7 separate regions of the Homo sapiens genome follow, and all the other regions are linked to region 1. Evidence: promoter capture Hi-C in 16 types of primary human blood cells and fetal thymus (Javierre and others, 2016). All regions are on one chromosome and are shown on one strand. The core of a region is centred on a gene start or on the middle of the fragment in contact, and the rest is flanking DNA. Distances in the headings are between cores, read along the strand shown.

Region 1 (2,739 bases), core at 116-2,615:
ATCTGTAGGTAACTTATAATACCTAATACAATGTAGATGGGATGTAAATAGTTGTTATACTGTATAGTTTAGGAAATAATGACAAGAAAAAAAAAGCCTCTACATGTTCAGTACAAACGCATTTTTCTTTTTCTGAAGAATATTTTTGATTTGAGGTTGGTTGAATCCACCCCACGCGGAACCCACGACTAAGAAGCGCTGTGTTTGCTAAGGGCTTCACACAAATTACCTCATTTAAATGTTACCACAAATGGATGAAAAAGGTATTACTATAACAATTTTACAAATGAGAAAAGGGAAACCTAGGGCTGGATCAAAGTAACGACGGTTAAGTACACTCCTGATCTATCGTTTACAAGACTAGACTGAGGGCTGAAATTTTGTCAATACAACGCTGTCCTTGTACTCGCGTAAGCAAGTCTCCATGAGCACAACTCCAGGACTGCTAGAGTGGGAATTTTCTCCCAGGGACCCCATTTCTCTTTGGCTGGAATTCCCGATCTCCACCTCACTCCTCCTCCCTCCATGGCACCAGTCCCCCCATCATCTCAGAAATGCCCCTCTTCTCCGCCCCTGGCTGTCTTTCCAAACACAATCTAACAACTGGCCACGCCCCCACACACCATAGAAGGACCATCTCCACTTACGGTTTTCAGCTACCTATGAGGTCGTCAGTCCCGCTGTCTGTGTCAAATCAGAAAAAGAACCTGACCGTGAGGACTAGAGTAAGAGGCTGTGAAGACTGCCGCCTCCTCGCACGACCCACACCGTCGAGTGTCCGGAGATGGACGGGAAAAGCTACCACAGTGGCATGGCCTTATTTCCTGTGAGTCGCCTTTAATTCAAACCTAGACAGACGCACGCCCTGCCCGGCCCTCCTCAGACCCGAGAGCTGCGCTGTGAGGGGACGCGCCTCCCCTCGTTGATGAGAATTCGCTGCCACGCTTTTTGCACAGGCGAGAGCCTCACCGCGGCGGCAACTCTACCACGTGGACAAAGGCACAGCCGTGTCTCATTCTCGACAATGGAGGAGGGCGTGGGGTATGCACTAGGGGCTGTCTCGGGGGTCAGACCGCCGGGGGACGGCAACGTACCTGCGCGGCGACGTCCAGGGTCAGCGCGGGCCGCGGCCCCCACGGTCGGGACGCCCCCCGCGTGGGACGCAGTTCCACTGAGGGGCCGGCCGCGGAGGTCACAAGGTGGGCCCACCGAAGCCTCTGGTAGGGGCACGGGAAGAGCCGCCTTTCTCTCCTCCTCCTCCTTCTTGGAGGCTTACTCTGGGTCACCGGGGCCCCAGAGCCGGGGGACTTTCCGGCGCAGTTCCGCGGCTTCCCGCGCGCGGCCAGCCGGTCTCCACGCAGACGCGAGCGCCCCGGCGCCGCCCTCTCCCGCATTCCCGTGACGGGCAGCGAAGTCAGCCAGTGGGACTGCGGGCCGGAAGGCTAACTCCGCCCATGTGTGGCTTATAAGAGGCGGTAGCTTCCGGGAGTGTCACTTTCCCAGAAATCCCGGCAAATCCGCCCTAGAGTTTTCGTTGGTCCAACCGGGCCACAGACTCCGGCCCGTCTGGTTAGGTGGGATGCCTGATTGGGCCAAACCTCTTAGGTCCCGCACCTAGAGCGGGGAGTAGCGTCTGCTTTTTTTTCCGCTGAGCGGAGGCCGCTAGGCTGGAGAGGGAGGGGAAGGTGTGTGGGGTCGGGTGAGATGCTTTCCCCTCGTCCCGCATGCGCCTGTATTGGAGTGATTTCAGTTAAAAGTCTCGTGAAACGTCACCAGTGATGTAGTCACGGCCAGCAGCAGCTGCCTGACCCCGCCGAGGCCTTCCGTCTGGCAACATGTGGGGCGCCGCAATGCTTGAGGCCACGGCGAGGGCAACGCCGGCCGCGCCCCGTGGAAACCGCGTGGCGGAGTGCTTGAGCCGATCGCGCTCTTTAGGAGTTAGGCCACTTAGAGGCGACATCTTGGTGGACACGGAGGAAGCCAGTTTTAGTCAGATGGGAAAAGTAGCTAAAAGTGGGAGGAGACTGGGGCGAGGGTGGGACGTGGGGGAGGCGGGGGCGTGACGGCGGCTCTCCACTGCCCTGAGGCTTGAGGGGCCCCGGGAAACCCGGGCCCGGCTGGGGTTGGGACTCTGTTCTTCCGCGTTCATAGCTACGATTCAGCTGTTCTGGAATGAGAACTGGATTTTTACTGAACTTTACGAACAGGCTCAACAGGATGTAACCATTCAGTGTGGAGGCATGAGAAACTATAGCTTGTAAATTAAAAGAAAAACCTCATTTCTTTAGACAACATTTTCAGCTCCATCTGCTGGTCTGAGGCTGAATAATTAATTGAAAAGCCAGGAGAGAAATGGGGCTAGATGAAGTGAGGTAGTTTAACCTGTGCTTTCTTGGCGTCCCGTCGGCTCCCTTTGCTTGCATTCCTAAGAGAATCTTGGTCTCAGATTTCAGGACAAGTGGAAAACAGTTGGGCTATTTAGTATAGGCCACCCCTTCCCCCCCGCACCCTCTCCCCCCACACACTTCAGTTAAGTAGGTGGAAAGTTTGGATTATTAAAAAGACACGTTGGAGGCTGAGCAGAGAGTGTGAAAGAGCATTTTCGGGGCTTTGTGAACTAACATGGCCTTTTGAACCCCAAGGCAGTGATACTTGGATTGATCTAAATCAGCGTGGATGGAATGGAAGTGGGAATGCGTTGATTTACTGCACGCTCAGTAGTTTGGATGCTGTGCTGCT
Region 2 (2,739 bases), core at 63-2,562, 1.9 Mb before region 1:
GAGAAAATGACTTTGAGCGATCTGCTGTCAGGGAAGCCTGCCCAGGAGATGCAAGCTCAACTTCACACATAAAAGTGGAAATACATCAGAAAAATTGGGAGTGTTAGGATTCCGGAGGCTGGTACCACAACTGACTAATTAAAACAAATCCCAGAAGTGGGGATCACAGAGCAGAAGGGTCTGCAAAACACTTCTCTAGATCATCTTCTTTAACTCCTGGGTCCAGCCAAACCAAAAGATTAATCGTATTTCATTGTGTTTATCTCATTAGGAATATTTAGGACAGCAGTGTGGGCCCCAAGGTAGAGCTGCTTTTCCTTAATCTGTGTTGTAGTCATGCCAGGAGCTTATGGGAAGAGTCTCAAAAACTGATTGTTACATCCACTGCAGGGGTGCTGCAGGTCAGTGGCTCAGCACATCGACAACACAGCTTCACAAAGGCCCACAGAATAAACCGTGCAACTGTCCTTTCAGGATGTTATAGAAGGGATCCCGTGACTCTCATAACTGGGCATGGGCTGCTTTCACTGCCAGGATCCTGGTCTGTGTTTTGTGTCCTGACCCTCACTGTCCCACCCCAACCCTCACTCTGAGGCCTTCTAATGTGAACCTTTTGTGCTGTATCTAGCATAAGCATCCTCAAATTCTCTCTGGATAGAGATGGAATGTCAATTCAATATGAAATAGAAACATTTTAACTCTAACATTTCAGAATGGCAACAGACTTCGGAAACATCACCAGCTTGATTCCCCTCATTTTAAAGATGAGAAAACTGAGGCCAATAATGGCAAAGAAATCCGCCCAAGCCCACAGTTGCACAGACCGAATGGAAAGGCCAGGATGAAAAGGAGCGTGGAATCACGCACACCCTTTCTTCTCCATGCAGCGCAATCCCAGGCTCTGCAGCTTCAGGTTGGACTCTCCTTGCCACCTTGCCACCACTTCAGAGAATCCATTAAATGTCTTCATGACCAACCGCCACCTCTTGCCAAGCACAAAGCTCTCCATGTTAGCCAGATGTTTTGACGTGCTGATTTGCCAAGCATGGCAAAGCTTGACAAATCTTCCTCTGAACACCCCAACTTCTACTCTTTCGCTATGTACCACAAATAAAGTGCTAAGAGTTATGAAACAATAGGTTCAGTATAATGTTATTTTATGTATTAAAAACAAGTTTCTGCCAATACGGAAAAAACAATGTAGAACACAAAATATTTACAGCACAAAGTGGGCGATAGAAGTGGGTTACAGGATTACAGTTAATTTTTTTCCTTCTGGCTTATCTATATTTTCTAATTTTTCCTCCAGTAATAATTTTTCCTTCAGGACTTGCATAATTTAAAAAAAGACAAAAATAACAATAAAAGCGTTCTATTTAGGAGCTCTAGAGTGTCACATTACCACAGTCTGCAGTGTGCCGGTGAATGTCTGAGGTCATTTCTGGCTGAGGGGGAGGCACAGCAGTTATTTTCTTGGGAGCACACCTCCTCTCATTGGCTCTGGTGGGACTGGTTGCTGGTCCATCACCAGCAAGCATGTAACTTTTCCAAAGAAAGGATTGCAAGCTTATTTTCATCATGAATTAGCGAAAGAAGCAGTTAAATCCCAATTTTCCATGTCCTTCCTATTCAGAATAGGCACACAGCTTATTTACACACTGTGAGATCTAAAAGTTTACAACTTTACGACTTACAGACTGTGCGGTTTAAGAGAAAGGTTTCCACCCAGAGCCACCACACGTAGACAATCAAAAGAGATCTCACGGAGGATCAAAAAACCTGTTTTGTTGCAGGGACTATCTTGTTCATGAAGGTCATTTCCGTAATCCCTGAGCCCATCGCTGGCCTCTCCAGGATGTGATTATACATAAATACTCCAATGGGCACCCTAAGGTGTAGAGCTGAGTCCTGGTCCAGCTCCAAGGAAATGCCCTTGAATGTGAAGGCAGAGCTATGTCCTTGCCATCCGCCACTTAGACAATAAAAATGATGTTGCGGGTCGGGTGCGTTGGCTCACGCCTGTAACTCCTGCACTTTGGGAGGCCGAGGCGGGCGGATCACGAGGTCAGGAGTTTGAGACCAGCCTGGCCAACATGGTGAAACCCCGTCTCTACTAAAGATACAAAAAATTAGCCGGGCGTGGTGGTAGGCGCCTGTAATCCCAGCTACTTGGGAGGCTAAGGCAGGAGAATTGCTTGAACCCGGGAGGCGGAGGTTGCACTGAGCCGAGATCGCGCCACTGCACTCTAGCTTCACGCTACAGGGCAAGACTCAGAATTAAAAAAAAAAAAAAAATGGTGCTGTGCATCAGAACTCTCCCAACAGCAGGGAATTCTGGGGGAGCCACTGCTTCTTGGCTGCTTTTCCTGGCAAAGTCATCCCAAGCCCTTGTTATAACCTGTTTTGGCCATTCGTTGCCACTTCTATGTTTTGCATACCAAATATGAAGAGCCCCAGTTGGTATTCTAACAAATCTGTCCCTTTTACCATCTCCATTTTAGAAAAAAGAATGTCCCAGAATAAGTTTGGAAAAGCAGTCAATCTCTTAGCAATTACCGTATTAAACATATCTTAATGCCCTACAAAAATATTCTAAAATACCATCCATAAAGCAAGTGCTCACTGCCTAGATGTACACTGCAAGTAAAATCTTTGCCAAGTGGCTTCAGGTCTGGAAGTGTGTCTTTTCCTCACCAGTTCTCCCTCTACGTTAGTGTAGTAGAAAGACAATTCTCCATG
Region 3 (2,739 bases), core at 140-2,639, 1.9 Mb before region 1:
GGGGGCTTCCCACAGCTCTCAGGATCATGTTGCAGCCTCTGCCTGGGCCTGTCCCTGCCGGCCCCTGTCCCTGCTGGCCCCTGTGGCTTCATCGCACTCCTCTTTCGTCCTTGCCCACAGTGCTCTGAGAACAGTGCCTTCTTCTGCCCCTAGAACTCAGCCTCTCCCTGCCTCAGGCCCCTGGCACAGACTGATACGCATTCCCAGAATACTTGTCCCACCACACTGGCACCGTGTCTTCATTCTGAAACCTCCACTGAAATGTCACTGCCACCCCCTTCCCGGATGCCCCCAACCTGCACATGCCCCATCACGCACTCTCTGAGCTCCCTTTACCCACCACCAGCAGTGATGAAACCAGTATTCATAGACCTGATTCCTGTAGGTCTGTGTCTCCCCACTAGGCCATGAGCCCCCAGGGCAGGGACTCAGCTTGTCTTGTGCTGCTGCTGCCCAGCATGGCATCCAAGCCCTTCTCTAGAATGGAAGAGGCTGCTCCTCTACCCCCGCACCTTCTATAACGTCACCAGACACACAACAGAGTCCTGTAGAAAATCCATAAACAGGGAGAGGACACAGCAAGACGGCAAAAGAGGAAGCTCAAAGGCCCTTGTTCCCCCACAGAGAAACACTAAAAACAACTAGAGACTGGTTAAAATATTGCATAGGAGCTCTGCAAAACAGGCAACGATCTACAGCAACCAAGAGAATGCCCAGCCCAGAAGCAGCCACATTCAGGATGTCAGGAACTCTGAGGTGTTTCACTCACCCCTGCCCCAGGCCTCCCCAGCATGGCACCACCTGATGAATGCGGCAGCCCGGTTCCCAATTCCTTCCCTTGAACTGGAGGGAGCAGAGCGGACCTTTCTGCAACATCCTAATCTGTCTTGGGCTGCCTGAGGAACAGATCTCTGTTTCACCTGACTCTGAGCTCAGAGCCCAGATAGGAAGTCAGGGAAATGGTTATGGGCACTGCTAGGCAAAGCTGTAGGATGACTATAGCCCCACGCATACCTGGGGCAAGAATGACAGGTGAGAAATACAGTAGAACATCTGAGGCCCAAGGAGGGACTGGGGGAGACTTTGAGAAAGTAAGATATATATATATATATATAAAGCTTTGTAAAAGTTTAATGGAGCCAACAAGGCAAATAAATTGTGTTCCGGCAGACATTAAGACCTGCTTTCTCTTACCAAAAAATAAGGGCACACATTTTTATCAAAATTCGATAATTCAGAGTTAAGGGTACTGAGATTAAGCTTCAAAGCACCAACTTAAACCAAACAGCAATGAAAAATTGGTTATTCAACTTGGAAAGAGGAACTAAAACCAAGGCATAAAGGGGAGATTAAATATGTGTTCCTTGATCTCAAAGTCCTTTTAGGAGCAGGAGTTCTGGCCACATGTGAGCAACACATCACACCACCAAACCCCAATTCCAGAATCTAAATTTACAATGATAGAAAAACAAAGGTTACTCCAAATGCATTTCTTGGTATATTCCAAAGGGAAGCTTGAAAGTATTCATAATGAAAGTAAGAGATTTTGAAACAGCCACGAATATGGGGAAATTGAAAAAAACACATACACAGGCCCAGGGAAGATGCATCCTCAGAAGAAACCAGAGGAAACTTTGGCCTTCATCCAGAGCTGATCCCCACACTTAGGCAGATCCTGCTATTTGGTGGGGGCCATTCCCAATACAGAGTTAGTCTTCAAAGACTGGGACAAGGAGCTGTTTTTCAAATGCCCAATGTTCAGCAAAAAAATCACACGGCATACAAAGAAACAGGAAAACACAGCTCATTCAGAGGAAGAAAATGAAGTGGCAGAACCCATCCCTGAAGAAATGCAGGCACTGGATGTACTTGACCAAGACTAAAAATGACTGTCTTAAATATGCTAAAAGAGCTGAAGGAAAACAGATAAAGAATGAAAAGAAATCAAGAAAATAACATATGACAACAAAATGAGAAATTATAAAAAGGAATCAAACAGAAATTGTGGAGCTGAGAAATACAAAACTGAACTGAAAACTCTGACCAGAGGGATTTGAGTCGGTAGAAGAATCAGCAAACTTCAACATAGCACATTTGAAAATATCAAGTCAGAGGAACAAAAAGAATGAGGAAAGTGAGCAGAGCCTCAGGGACTTAGGGGCCTCCCTCACGTGCACCATGCACATTATGGAAATCTAAGAAAGAGAAGAGAGAATGGGGCAGAGAAATTATGTGAAGAAAGAATAGCTAAAAACCTCCCAAATTTGACTAAAGACATGAATATAAACATCCAAGAAGCTCAGTAAACCCCACGTAAGATAAACCCAAAGAGACCAACATGAAGACACAATATAATCAAACTGTGTAAAGACAAAGGCAGAATATTGAAAGCAGCAAAAGAATGGCTCATGATGTACAAAGAATCCTCAATAACACTGTTAGCCAATGTCTTAGCAGAAACCTCAGAGGCCAGAGGCAGTGGGAAGATACCCCCAAACTGCTAAAACAAACAAACAAAAAAATCTGTCAACAGAGAATTCTACATTCAGCAAAACTGTCCTTCACAAATGAGGGAGAAATTAAGACACTTCCAGATTAATAAAAGATGTGCGTGTTCATTGCCACTAGATCTGCCCTACCAGACTACTAAAGGGAGTCCTGAAAGTTAAAACAAAAGGGCACTAGACAGCAGCTAAAAGCTGTAAGAAAATACAAACATTTCCAGCAAAGGCAAATGGA
Region 4 (2,739 bases), core at 64-2,563, 1.8 Mb after region 1:
AACATGTGCTTGAGGCAATTTGTTCAATCAACTAATATTTACTGAGCATAATTTTAAAAAATCAGAATTAAGTTGTCCCAGTTACAAGCTTTGGAATCTGACAACCTGGATCCATTGAATCACTGCACTTACCGGAACCTGAACAACTTATCTGGCTGAGTCTCAGTTTCCTTATCTGTAAAAGGGGGGATAATATTACCTGACTTGCAGAATTGCAATGAAACGATAAATGTGATTGTGCAGGGAAGGCATGGAGCTGAGCCCCTGGAACAGAAAAGGCATGTGATAAAGAACATCTTCCACACCACGGAGAATACTCCAGGGGAGAAAGGCCAGCCCCAGCAATCATACAGAGCATCTCAGTCAGGCCACCCTGAGCTGAATTCTTAGAGTAACAGGGGATTTACTGCCTGCAGGCGTCTCTGGACAGCTATGTCTGCTCAGAAGTTTTTCCTAATACAAAGTTAAAATCTATTCTGCTCTAATTTTCAGTGATCTATCATCATTATTTCAACCCTCACATCTAAATAAAGCATGGAGATAATAAATTATCTCCCACATGGAAGCCTTTTCCAGCACTTTCCAATAGAACTTCCGGTGACGATGGAAATATTCCACATCTGTGCCTCCAGTATTAGGCACCTGCGGCAATTGATCATTGGGAATGTGACTACTACAACTAAGAAACTGAATTTTTATTTTATTGTATTTTAATTAGCTTTAAATAGTCCCATATGGCTAGTGGCTTTCAGATTGGTCATAAGTGTTGGACATAAAAAAAGCAACAAGAGTCCCCTCTCTTTTATTCACTAAATCAAACATCGTCCGTTCCTTTACATATCATCTATATGTGATCATCTGAGTCCTTCACATCCCAGTTCTGTCCTCAGGGATTCACTCTAATTTTCCACATCCCCATGAAAGGGTAACATCAGAACTGAACCCCTCTGCAGGTATCCCACGAAGGAATACCAAATTCTGATTAATAGAAACAGAGCAGCATCCCCGGGGCTAGCCTCGTATCCTTCATTTCTGTATTCCTAGCATCCACCCCAGGAGATAGCTCATTCATAATTGATGAGTGGATGAATACATTTTCTCAGCAGGGTGGAATACAGTGGAACTCTCACTTCCTTTGTTCCAGATATGAATTTCCATGACCGGAATCTAAGAACACATTCTCTCTTTTTTTAAGTTAATTTGGTGGGGGGAGACATCTTGACCTATATTGACCTTACTGTCAACTAAAGCCCCTCTTTTCCATGTCATCTCTCCTCCAACCTTGTGCTGTTGGGTATGGCTTTCCAAATGCAAGCCTTTACATTTAACTCTGTGATATGGTTTGGATATTTGTCCCTGCCAAAATCTCATGTTGAATTATAATCCCAGTACTGGAGGCAGGGCCTGGGAGGAGGTGATTGGACGATGGATTAGCACCATCCCCTTGTTGCTGTTCTCACGATAGTGAGTGAGTTCTCCCGAGATCTTGTTGTTCAGCAGTGTGTGGCACCTCCCTCCTACTCTCTCTCTTGCCCCTGCTCTCACCATGTGAAGTGCCTTATCCCCCTTTGCCTTCTGCCATGATTGTAAGCCTCCTGAGGCCTCCCTAGAAGCCAAGCAGATGCCATCACCATGCTTCCTGTAAAGCCTGCAGAACTGTGGGCCAATTAAACCTTTTATGTATACGTTACCCAGTCTATAATTGCTCATTATAAAATATATCAATGCAAGAACAGCCTAACACACTCTGAATATCTTTTTCTCTGATGTCCCACTTATGATGACCATGAGGACTCTGATTCACATGGCCACAAGTATCTATGGGCCTCCATGCCAACTGGAGATGGCTGCCCCTCTGGCTGGACAGCTCATGGCTTGACCATGGATAGCCATCTCTCTGGGAAGATTTGGAAAAAGCACTCACTCTGCTGGGGAACAGCCATGCAGGTTTGCTGAGCAAATCCCATGTCTGTGAGAATAAACAGTTATCCCTATTCTGAATGGACGCCCAGGTCCTAGACAGCTGGGCTTGGGAATAGGAGCAGGGGCTGAGTTCTGGCTCCCTCCCCACTGCCCTCCTGTTCCAATCCATCAGATAGTCCATCCAGTATAGATGGTCTCTGATATATGATCATTGGACTTAAGACTTTTCAACTTTACAATGGGTTTGCTGGGGGGTAGCCCCATGATAAGGGGGGAAGCATGTATACATTGCTTCCTAATTTAACTCTCTTATCTTCTATAATAGCACTATGCAAACTATCTGAGGGTAAGAACCAGGGTTTTCTAAATTTTTTATCATCCTCAGATTCACACTTTTGTAAAATACAACAAAAATAAATTATCAGAAAAATAAAATTTTAAAAATATAAGCCCAAACTTTATTTTTAGGTTAATCAGAGGGAACATACATTTCAGTAAATATAATCAAAACTAACATAATGAGGAAAAAAACAATTGTAAAAACTGGACATGCTCCTTTGAGAAGATGTGTATAGGCAATTATCGTATACAATTGCAATTACACTCTAAGCTTTTTGCTGCTCAGCAGTTACAATTGTGGGACAGTTAATCTGGGCAATACCTCCTTTAACAGTCCTCCCCTGGGAGGTGGATGTGTCCCCTCCCGTTGAATCTGGACAGGTTCTGTGACCACATTGACCAATGAAATGTGGGAGAAGTCATGCTTTACCACTTTCTGGAGCTGAACCTCAAGAGGCTGGGAATTTCTACTTCCTT
Region 5 (2,739 bases), core at 162-2,661, 1.7 Mb before region 1:
CACAGCAGACTCTGAGACAGGGATTTGAGTGAAGTAAGTAATGTGGGAGGAACCCAGGAAGTTCTAGTAGGGGAGGGGCAGGGACACAGAGAAGCTGTGACAGCAAGTGGCATTTCCCAAGGCTCAATCACACCAGGACCTCGGGTGACTATGCAAGGTGATTTCTCTTCGGGATTTTCCTACCACAGGATCATTGCACCCCTTGGCCAGGTATCATCCATCAACCCCTGTCATCTGTCAAGAGTGGCTGCTGGAGGCATCACCCTCTGCCCCCCAGGACTTCAGTCCTAGCTGGTGCACTCCTGGCTTTGGGGCATCCTCCGCTCGAGTGGCAGGTGCTGCAGGCAGGAAGCTGTGGTGTGTGTGTGAACTGTCTACAGAGGCTGCAGGCGACCCGGAGGGCAGCCTGCCAGCACTGTCAGCTACAGCATCCGGCAAGGCAGATGGGTAAAGCAGTAAACCAGCAGGTGAGTGAACGGTTGCAATTGTGGCGGATGCCTTGGAGGGAGCTGACTGGGAGTTGAGCACAGAGGGAGGAGCAAAGACCTCCTTCAAATAGGGTCATGGCCGGTGCCTGCCTCCTTGGAGTAAGTAGGTCCCCAGCAAGCAGAGGCAGGAACCCGCAGTCACGCCACCCTGGCAGAGTTGTTCTGACCTTTGCCTAGAGCCTCGGTGCTACCTGTGAGCTGGGATAGTGATCACATTCACTTCTAATATGAGCTGGTTAAAAGCACATTATCATTGGCCAGGTTTCTCAATTGCCAAGAGATGACCTAGTGCTTGTTTAATACCAGAAATGAAGCTCAGCAGCAGCTCTTGGGCTGTCCTTCAGCGGCCCCTCACATGCCCAGGTGTGACCTTCTGGTTAGGGTGGCCTATGTCACCTCCCTCTCACCTTCTTGATGTCCACACAGTGCACCTGCTTTTGTCTGCCATGGGGGAGAGGAGGAGAGGCAGATCCTTCTGTGCCCTCTGCTCATGACCTTTTCTGCAGTGGGGTCCGAGGGTGGGCTTAGCTCAGGGACTGGATGGTGTGTCCTCTCCTAAGCTTAACTTGGCTCTGGGTTCCTTTGTCTTACAGATGGAACTTAACCAGAAGAAGCTAAGGAAGAGAAGAGAGGAGAGGAGAGAGACAGTGAAGAGGCTGGAAAAGGAGGAAGAGAAGTATGTTCTTTGGAATCAAAGTGTTACCTGGATTCCTACCCAGGATTTTCCTATTGTCTCAGGACCTAAAGGGAAAAGACCGGCCATGGGGCATGTGAGCCTCTGGGAAATCTGCCTCAAGCCCATAATGCCATCCGTCTACAGCAGTTGGAACAGTGTAAGAGTCAGACCTCGCCAGATCCCAAGCGCTGCAACATGAAGAACAAAACCAAGGTTAAGCCACAGACCAGGCCCCGTGGAGATTTCGCTGCTTCTAGCCTGACCGTCAGGATTTGGGTCCTGACCGCTCCCCTGGCTGTTGGGCTGGTCCCAGCTCTGGGCCTCCGTTTTCTCACCCACAGAATGGGGACGATACAGGACCTCCCTCATCAGAGCTGTCACAAGTGGTAAGTGAATGGGTTCGTGAGAAGCTCTGCAGTGCCTGGCGCAGACCAAGGGCCCCACCGATGGTGGCTGTGAGTTTTCCCACTAATGTATTTTTTGATATGTAACATTTTAAAATAAAATTTTCTCTTTTCTTTTTTCCTTCTCCTTTTAGAACCTCAATTTCCTGATTCCCTAAGCTCATGTCTGGTGCTGACTATTATCTTAGTGCTGAACTCAAGCTTTCCTCATAGCTCCTCAGAGCATTTGAGAATAACTGGGTGTTTCTGCACCCACAACATATTTGTAAAACCAGTCAGGATATATGGTTCATGAAGCATTAATAGAAGATGTGGTTCTCAAACTTGAGTGGGGCTCAGGGTCCTCTGGGGGGCTTGTGAACACACAGATCATGGGTCTCCCCAAGGTCTCTGATGTTGGAGGTCTGGATGGGGTCCAAGAGTTTGTTTTTCTGGCCAATGCCCAGGTGGCCAGAACCACTTTTGGGAACCACACTTTGAGAACCACTGGCACATAGTAAGGAGGCCTCTTCCAGAGGCCACCAGGGAAGTCACTGTCCTGGAAGGTAAAGAACATTTGTCCAGGGGATGTGTTAATGAAAAGACTCAGTTCTGGGCTCCTGGAGCCAGGTAGGAGATGAGAACAGACACAAAAGAACTTAAGAATAAGAAAATAAGACCAAAGGAGCATCAAGTGCTTCAAGAGTGCAGCAGTGATTTTGTTCCAGCTGGGGCAGGAAAACCTGGGGAGGCTCTGCGGTGAGGAACCATTTGGGCTGGGCGTTGATGGGTGGCTGAGCACTGCTTGGCGCCTGGCCCTGCAAGTGCGATGTGGTGGGTCCTGTGTCCCACCTTGAATCTGTGTCCTGTCCTTGAATCTGGTGGCTTGTGGCTGCTTAAACCAGTCAGCAGGGCCAGTGCACACTAATGCCTTGGGTACAATGCCCAGGGCCTATGCTTCTAATGCCATTGAATATATTTTAAAATCAGAAGGAAAAATGAGTACAATAATAAAGAATATACAATAATGAATCTAGACTGGATTATATTCACCTTTATGCCAACATAGGCACAAAATACAACTTTAAATATTTTTATGGAAGAAGGGGCCCATGAAAGCAGAAGTGCCACTCCCCCAAAACTCATGCTATGGCCTCGCTGACTGAACGTGATGGAAGTAATGCTCTGACTT
Region 6 (2,739 bases), core at 107-2,606, 1.7 Mb before region 1:
GAAGCTTGGGTAGCCAGCAGGGGGGCAGTGACAGGACGACATGGCAGATGGTGGTAGGCTGTGCAGAGCATGTGGGGTGGAACTGCCTTCCCTCTGGCCTTTTGGAAGCACAGGCCTCGGGCTGAGTGCCTGGAACCCCCAGACTGGCAGCAACCCCAACTGTAGGAGGCTCTGCATCCTTCTCAGATCTACTCCCGCCCTCAGCACCTGCCTTGGGGGCATGGAGCAGGCAGGCTGTGCAGGTGAGGGCTTCCTGCAAGGCATTCACACAGCTGAGGTGCATGTGCCCTGAGCCGGCGACACGGAGACTGCAGCTTCCATAAGGCAAACCAGCATTTTGCACCTGCCCTCCTGAGAAGGAGGTGCCTGAGGTGCCCACCTTTCTTAAAGGTCCATCAGTGTTCAATAATTCTCTTTTTCCCATGTCTTGTATTTTCTGCAGTCATTATGGCCACTGTTTACAGGTCACCTTCAAAGGTGCCTGCAACTTCATATTTGGTCTCCACGACCACCTTGGTAGTGGGTCCTATTATTAGGCCATTTCACAGATGAGACAGTTCAGGCCCCAGTGGTGTGGGGGGCTGTGTTGGGAACCCTGCTCTCTGATCAGTCATTGTTTGGCCTCCCGTGAGACTCCTGAGTGATAAACTTGCAGGTTCAGCGCTTTCCACAGAGTCTAGCAAAACCTCAGGGAAGAGACTTTCACTTTCCATAAGGAATTTAGAACACACATAGCTTTAGTGATCTTGTTACTGGCTGAGCTGGCATCACTACTAGCAACTCAGCTCATGTCTCCTGGGGGCCCTCGCTGTGCCTGGGCCCGCCTTGGCCCAGGGGACCATTCATGTTCAAGTGCGGCTGCCACTTTATGTTTTCACGGCAGCTTCTCTTTGCTAAATGTCATGGTCATGACATCAAATAATGACGTGAGAAATTTCATACTTGGTTTATGAGCCCTGCTAGCTGACTTCCTGGTCTTCTGTTCTCTCAGCAGAGTGAGCAAATCTTACCACCATTGAATGACAGTCAGTGGCTACAGTAATGTCAGGGCCAGAGGAGGCTGCCAGGAGGGAAGGAGTCTGTTCCCCAGGCCTGGGTCCATGAGATGCGAGCTGGCCATCCATGCTTTGCGTGGCCTTCCACGCTCCTCCTGCGTGAGAAGGGGTCAGCCTCGCCAGGCTTCCCTTCCCTAAGGCTGATCCTTTCTTCTCTTACTACGAATATGTTCCTGACACAGCATGCTGAAGAAAATATCAAATTCTAGAGACAGCATAGGAATGTCCTTTCAAGTTTTGGATCTAGACCATGGAGTTGGCCTTCCCCAGCCCCCATCAGCACCGGTGCTTGGAGAGAAGTGACTGAGCCTGAGGAAATGCTTTGTGTCTGTCAGAGGCCTTCACATATCAAGACAATTACCTGGGTTTACTTCCCTTATTGGCAGAAGAAAATGAAACGTTTCTGTAGGCTGGTTTCTCAGAGGGGGTCCTTCCCATTTGCTTCTCAGAGCAGCAGCACATCTTCATGCCAGCGTGATGCAAGGTGACAGCAGCCTAGCCCCTCAGGGGAAGGAGGACACAGGGTGTCTGCAGGGTGGGTGTCGCTCTTGGTGGAGGTCCTTCCCACTTCATGCTCACCTGCTGCGCCCATTTGCTCAACAAATATTTATTGAGTACCTTATATGAGCTAGGTGGATGCCAGGAGGAAGGCAATAAGCAAAACCCAGATCTCTACCCAAGCAGACCTTGTACTTGATGGACAACAAAGAAGTCTGTTAGCTAATGTTTATTTCATGAATACTGACTGCCAGAATAATTGTAAGCAATAAACAATCATGCATTCTCAATTTCTTTCTTTCCCTCTTTCTTTCTTTCCTTCCTTCCTTCCTTCCTTCCTTTCTTTCTTCTTTCTTTCTTTTTCTTTCTTTCTTCTTCTTCTTTTTTTTTTTTTGACAGAGTCTAGCTCTGTCACCCAGGCTGCAGTGCAGTGATGGGATCTCAGTTCACTGCAATCTCCACCTCCTGGGTTCAAGCGATTCTCCTGCCTTAGCCTCCCAAGTAGCTGGGATTCAGACATGCAGCACCACGCCTGGCTAATTTCTGTATTTTTAGTAGACACAGGGTTTTGCTATGGTTGGCCAGGCTGGTCTTAAACTCCTGACCTCAAGTGATCTGCCTGCCTCAGCCTCCCAAAATGCTGGGATTACAGCTGTGAGCCACTATGCCCAGCCTTAATTTGTTTATTTCTTAAACACGAGAGCACACACAGGACTTACTTATCCTGGGCCTTCATCAGGAAATGTCTAGGAGGAAAAGACACTTTCAATATTAACCGTGACAAAACTAGCTCTGATTGAAAGACAGATGAAAAAATAAATACCAGTGTATTTCTTCCTCTCTTTTCTCTGAACTCTGTTTCCAGCTGTTTCCTGTTTTGGACTAATTTTAAATTCTGAGGCGGGGGGTGGGGGGCAGGGGTGCAGTTGTACCGTCTGAGTTCAGGCAGTTATCGTGTTGGTCACAATTACTTGCAGTCAGATTGTATCTTTAGCATTGGATAAAAGTTATTCCCAATTGATGTTAAGAGTTGGTAATAAGTCTTCTTCCTTCCCCAAGGCCAGTCAGCGTTTTCCTAGTGTTAAGCACCAGGAACACAAGGCCACATTTGTATTTTTGTGCACATCATTTGCATACGTCTGCACCAAAAGCTTGACCCGGCAGAGTACACTGCAGACAAACCTAA
Region 7 (2,739 bases), core at 174-2,673, 1.6 Mb before region 1:
TCCTCGGCTCTCCGGACCCGAGACCGCCTCGCGCCGCTCCTTTGCCTTCCCTCCCTCACTCCTGCCCCACCCTGCATAGCGGTTGCTTCCTCGCCTTTCCCTCGCTCCCCTCGCGCTGTCCTTCCTTTGGCTTAAATGATCCCCCTGAGCACAGCTACTTGGCCGGGGCCCTGCGTGTTCCTGGTTCCCCGCTCGCAATTTCCCGAAGGGAGGAGGTCCCACGAGATGCTGGGGTCCTGCCTCGTTATCCGGCGAAGAGATGGCTTCTACACTTGCTCTTCTGCACCTGCCCCCCTCACGCTGCGTGACCAGTCCTCACCGCGGTTCTTGGAAAGAGTGGAGAACAGTAGTGACATTGTAGGCAATTTTTGTGAGAATTCAGCCTGGCAGTTTTTCCTGATAGGGATGGAGAAACATAGGAAACTGTAGTTGTTGACACCTAAGAAATATCAGGTTTTGCCCTTTGCCTCCTCTCCCATCTTTCAGAATATAAGAATGCTGTGTTTTGTTAGCTAAAAACTGAATCATGATTCGTAAGCATAGATTTCAATATAAGATACTTAAAATTCACTTTTCAATTCTGTGTCCTGAATTTCATAACTTTTAAGTTTCAGGGAGAATCAAGAGGCCCCATAGACCAAGCTTGAAGTTGTGGGACTGATTGACTTATATTTGATAGAAATACTGGAAATATTTGTTCATCAGTAGTGTGCCAAGAGGTGGTGGGGTACATATGAATGAGAGGCAGTTTTTGCCCCTGTAGACTGAGTTTATTGACTGATGATAAGAGGAACACATTTGAAGGAGAGCGATGGCAGGAAGGAGCATTTAGGCTCTAGAGAGGCAATTTAGAGAGAAGACTTTGCGGTGATAGTTGACTCCTTGGGCCAGTGAAAAGATCGGGAAGATGCTCCCATATATCCTGACCAACCATCCTGCGTTGCCCTGGACTGGGGTTTCCAAGGATGTAGAACTTTCAGTGCTAAACCTGGGCAAACTGGGACAATCTGATCACCCTACTTACTGTGAATATTGTGAATTAATCATCTGTTGATGATTGAGGAGCCATTTAGAATGGACATGCAAGAATTGGCAACACTTTCCTACAGAAATCTTGAAAACAAGGCATTTTTACCTGAGAAATGGAAGAGCAGTGGCCTGAGTTTGTCATTAGGTGCAGTGTGTTGAAAACCAGGGCCTACAGCCCCTGAGGGCACCGGTTAGGTAGTCCCAACTCTCAAGTTGGCTGGCTCACACTTCTGGCCCCAGGGCAAGCAGGCAGACTTAATTGTTTTTTTCAGGTTCTCTGTGGGGATTTCTTCCTTAATGAGTAAGTAAATCTGATTCTAAAGTCATCTTTTACTGCCTGATCTTTTCCAGTGTGCCTTTTACATTTATGTTTACTTATTTCCTTGACTTCCCTGTCCATGAACATTGTTCCTGTTTCCCTGTGTTTGTCCTTCTTGTTTGTTTATCCCTTTTCTGTATATCTGTAATGATCTCTTTCAAAGTGAGGTCTTGTCACCACCCTTCCTTTCCGCAATTATTATTGTAACATGGTAGCTGTTTTTCTTATTTTTCTTCTGCATTTCTCCTATATTTTTCATTTATTTTGTGGTCATTTCTAGTAGTTCATGTAATAGTATTCTTGATTACCTTAAAAGTCGAGGGTTCAACATAAGCCAGGAAAGCCTGTGTATAGTGGGCGAAGTAAAGGAATCTAAATTCAGAAGTAAAAACACGAAACTATTAGAATAAACTTTAGCACTTTAGATGTGCTAAATAGAATAAAGGAAGCCTTGAAAGACATATTACTAAACTGACAGAACTAAGACATAGATTTTAGCAGTGGTAGGGACCCCTAGTAATACGTTGGGTGGTCTCCCAACTCTTGGCACAAAAGGTGGGTGTTTGCTTTGTTTTGCTGATGAGATCATTGAGGTCTATGTGTGTGAGGTGGTTTATATGAAGTTACAGAGAATAGAGTCAAAAGAGAAATGAAAATGAATGAAGAAGGATAGAACTGGCAGCTGGACAATGACTGAGAAGTGTATTTTTAAAATTATGCTTTGGAAATAAGACTTTATGCCAAAGCTCTTGAATTACTGTATTTGAAATATAATGGAGAATTTGGTTGGTAAATTCTTTTATTCAGTGTGGAACATAGATGAGCTAAGTACTTTAACATACCGGTGCAAGCTTATAATTATTATTTGACATTGATTTCCCGAAATGCTTTAGAAACTTAATTGTACTCTGTGGAACTATTCCTTTCTGTTTGAAACACAGTTCTATCTAGGAAGAGAACTGTTTAATGTCCATATGTGACTGTTTAGGGATGCAGAATAAATACATTGAGGATTTAATATGTTTCAATACATTAAATTCTGTATAATTCTCCTTTTTCAATAAACTTCTGAAGGATTTTAGTTTAATTAAAAGTCTGCTAGGTCCATTTTCCTTTTTCCTCTTGGAGACTGAAGAGTAAGGGAGGAAGTATGGAGAAACAGATTGGGCATTCACGAATTCATGAGGAGTAAGGCAGCTGGAGTGTTTGTCTCAGCTTTGCCCCAGGTGTGTATTTTCAGATGGCTTTTTAAACTTGTTTCTTGATTTCTTAATTTTTTTCAAGGATAAATTGATGAATCTAGGAGCCCCAGTTTAAAGGATTGTGAAAAATGAACAAATTCAAGATGCTGTCACTAAAAAAGATGGGTTGATGCTATCTGATTTTCTCAG

Evidence for each region. Contacts are between HindIII fragments. The CHiCAGO score rates a contact against its expected background, and 5 or more counts as called.
Region 2: a contact is called between a fragment that was not itself captured here and the fragment with the promoter of NXT1 in region 1, in 2 of 17 cell types (total CD8 T cells and total B cells). The highest score is 7.7, in total CD8 T cells.
Region 3: a contact is called between a fragment that was not itself captured here and the fragment with the promoter of NXT1 in region 1, in 4 of 17 cell types (total B cells, naive B cells, total CD8 T cells and 1 more). The highest score is 9.8, in total B cells.
Region 4: a fragment that was not itself captured here is called in contact with the fragment with the promoter of NXT1 in region 1 in 1 of 17 cell types (activated CD4 T cells); the score reaches 6.1 in activated CD4 T cells.
Region 5: a fragment that was not itself captured here is called in contact with the fragment with the promoter of NXT1 in region 1 in 3 of 17 cell types (non-activated CD4 T cells, total CD4 T cells and naive CD8 T cells); the score reaches 7.9 in non-activated CD4 T cells.
Region 6: a fragment that was not itself captured here is called in contact with the fragment with the promoter of NXT1 in region 1 in 1 of 17 cell types (naive CD8 T cells); the score reaches 5.0 in naive CD8 T cells.
Region 7: a contact is called between a fragment that was not itself captured here and the fragment with the promoter of NXT1 in region 1, in 8 of 17 cell types (total B cells, activated CD4 T cells, naive CD4 T cells and 5 more). The highest score is 17.6, in total B cells.

The regions. Positions count from the first base shown.
Region 1 is chr20:23,349,417-23,352,155 of GRCh38, reverse strand. It overlaps NXT1 (nuclear transport factor 2 like export factor 1), which reads right to left and starts at 1,365. Exons shown (of 2, transcript NM_013248.3): 1 at 1,095-1,365. NXT1-AS1 (NXT1 antisense RNA 1) reads left to right here and starts at 689. Exons shown (of 3, transcript XR_937384.2): 1 at 689-826. RefSeq lists enhancers at 514-563, 620-1,491, 1,430-1,724, 1,644-1,783, 1,492-2,364 and silencers at 1,054-1,323, 1,944-2,073. The HindIII fragment of the contact is 12,471 bases long and covers 1-2,739 here.
Region 2 is chr20:25,249,407-25,252,145 of GRCh38, reverse strand. All of the region lies in intron 1 of PYGB (glycogen phosphorylase B), which reads right to left. Among named protein-coding and RNA genes, the nearest start is that of PYGB, 2.7 kb to the right of the region's middle. The HindIII fragment of the contact is 512 bases long and covers 1,057-1,568 here.
Region 3 is chr20:25,202,847-25,205,585 of GRCh38, reverse strand. The region is part of intron 1 of ENTPD6 (ectonucleoside triphosphate diphosphohydrolase 6); the gene reads right to left. Among named protein-coding and RNA genes, the nearest start is that of ENTPD6, 8.5 kb to the right of the region's middle. The HindIII fragment of the contact is 254 bases long and covers 1,263-1,516 here.
Region 4 is chr20:21,543,352-21,546,090 of GRCh38, reverse strand. No RefSeq gene overlaps it. Among named protein-coding and RNA genes, the nearest start is that of BETALINC1, 15 kb to the right of the region's middle. The HindIII fragment of the contact is 2,445 bases long and covers 91-2,535 here.
Region 5 is chr20:25,088,571-25,091,309 of GRCh38, reverse strand. No RefSeq gene overlaps it. Among named protein-coding and RNA genes, the nearest start is that of VSX1, 7.8 kb to the right of the region's middle. The HindIII fragment of the contact is 721 bases long and covers 1,051-1,771 here.
Region 6 is chr20:25,036,161-25,038,899 of GRCh38, reverse strand. All of the region lies in intron 2 of ACSS1 (acyl-CoA synthetase short chain family member 1), which reads left to right. Among named protein-coding and RNA genes, the nearest start is that of ACSS1, 21 kb to the left of the region's middle. RefSeq lists a silencer at 2,213-2,507. The HindIII fragment of the contact is 2,700 bases long and covers 7-2,706 here.
Region 7 is chr20:24,989,614-24,992,352 of GRCh38, reverse strand. All of the region lies in intron 1 of APMAP (adipocyte plasma membrane associated protein), which reads left to right. Among named protein-coding and RNA genes, the nearest start is that of APMAP, 1.8 kb to the left of the region's middle. RefSeq lists an enhancer at 1-49. The HindIII fragment of the contact is 1,557 bases long and covers 645-2,201 here.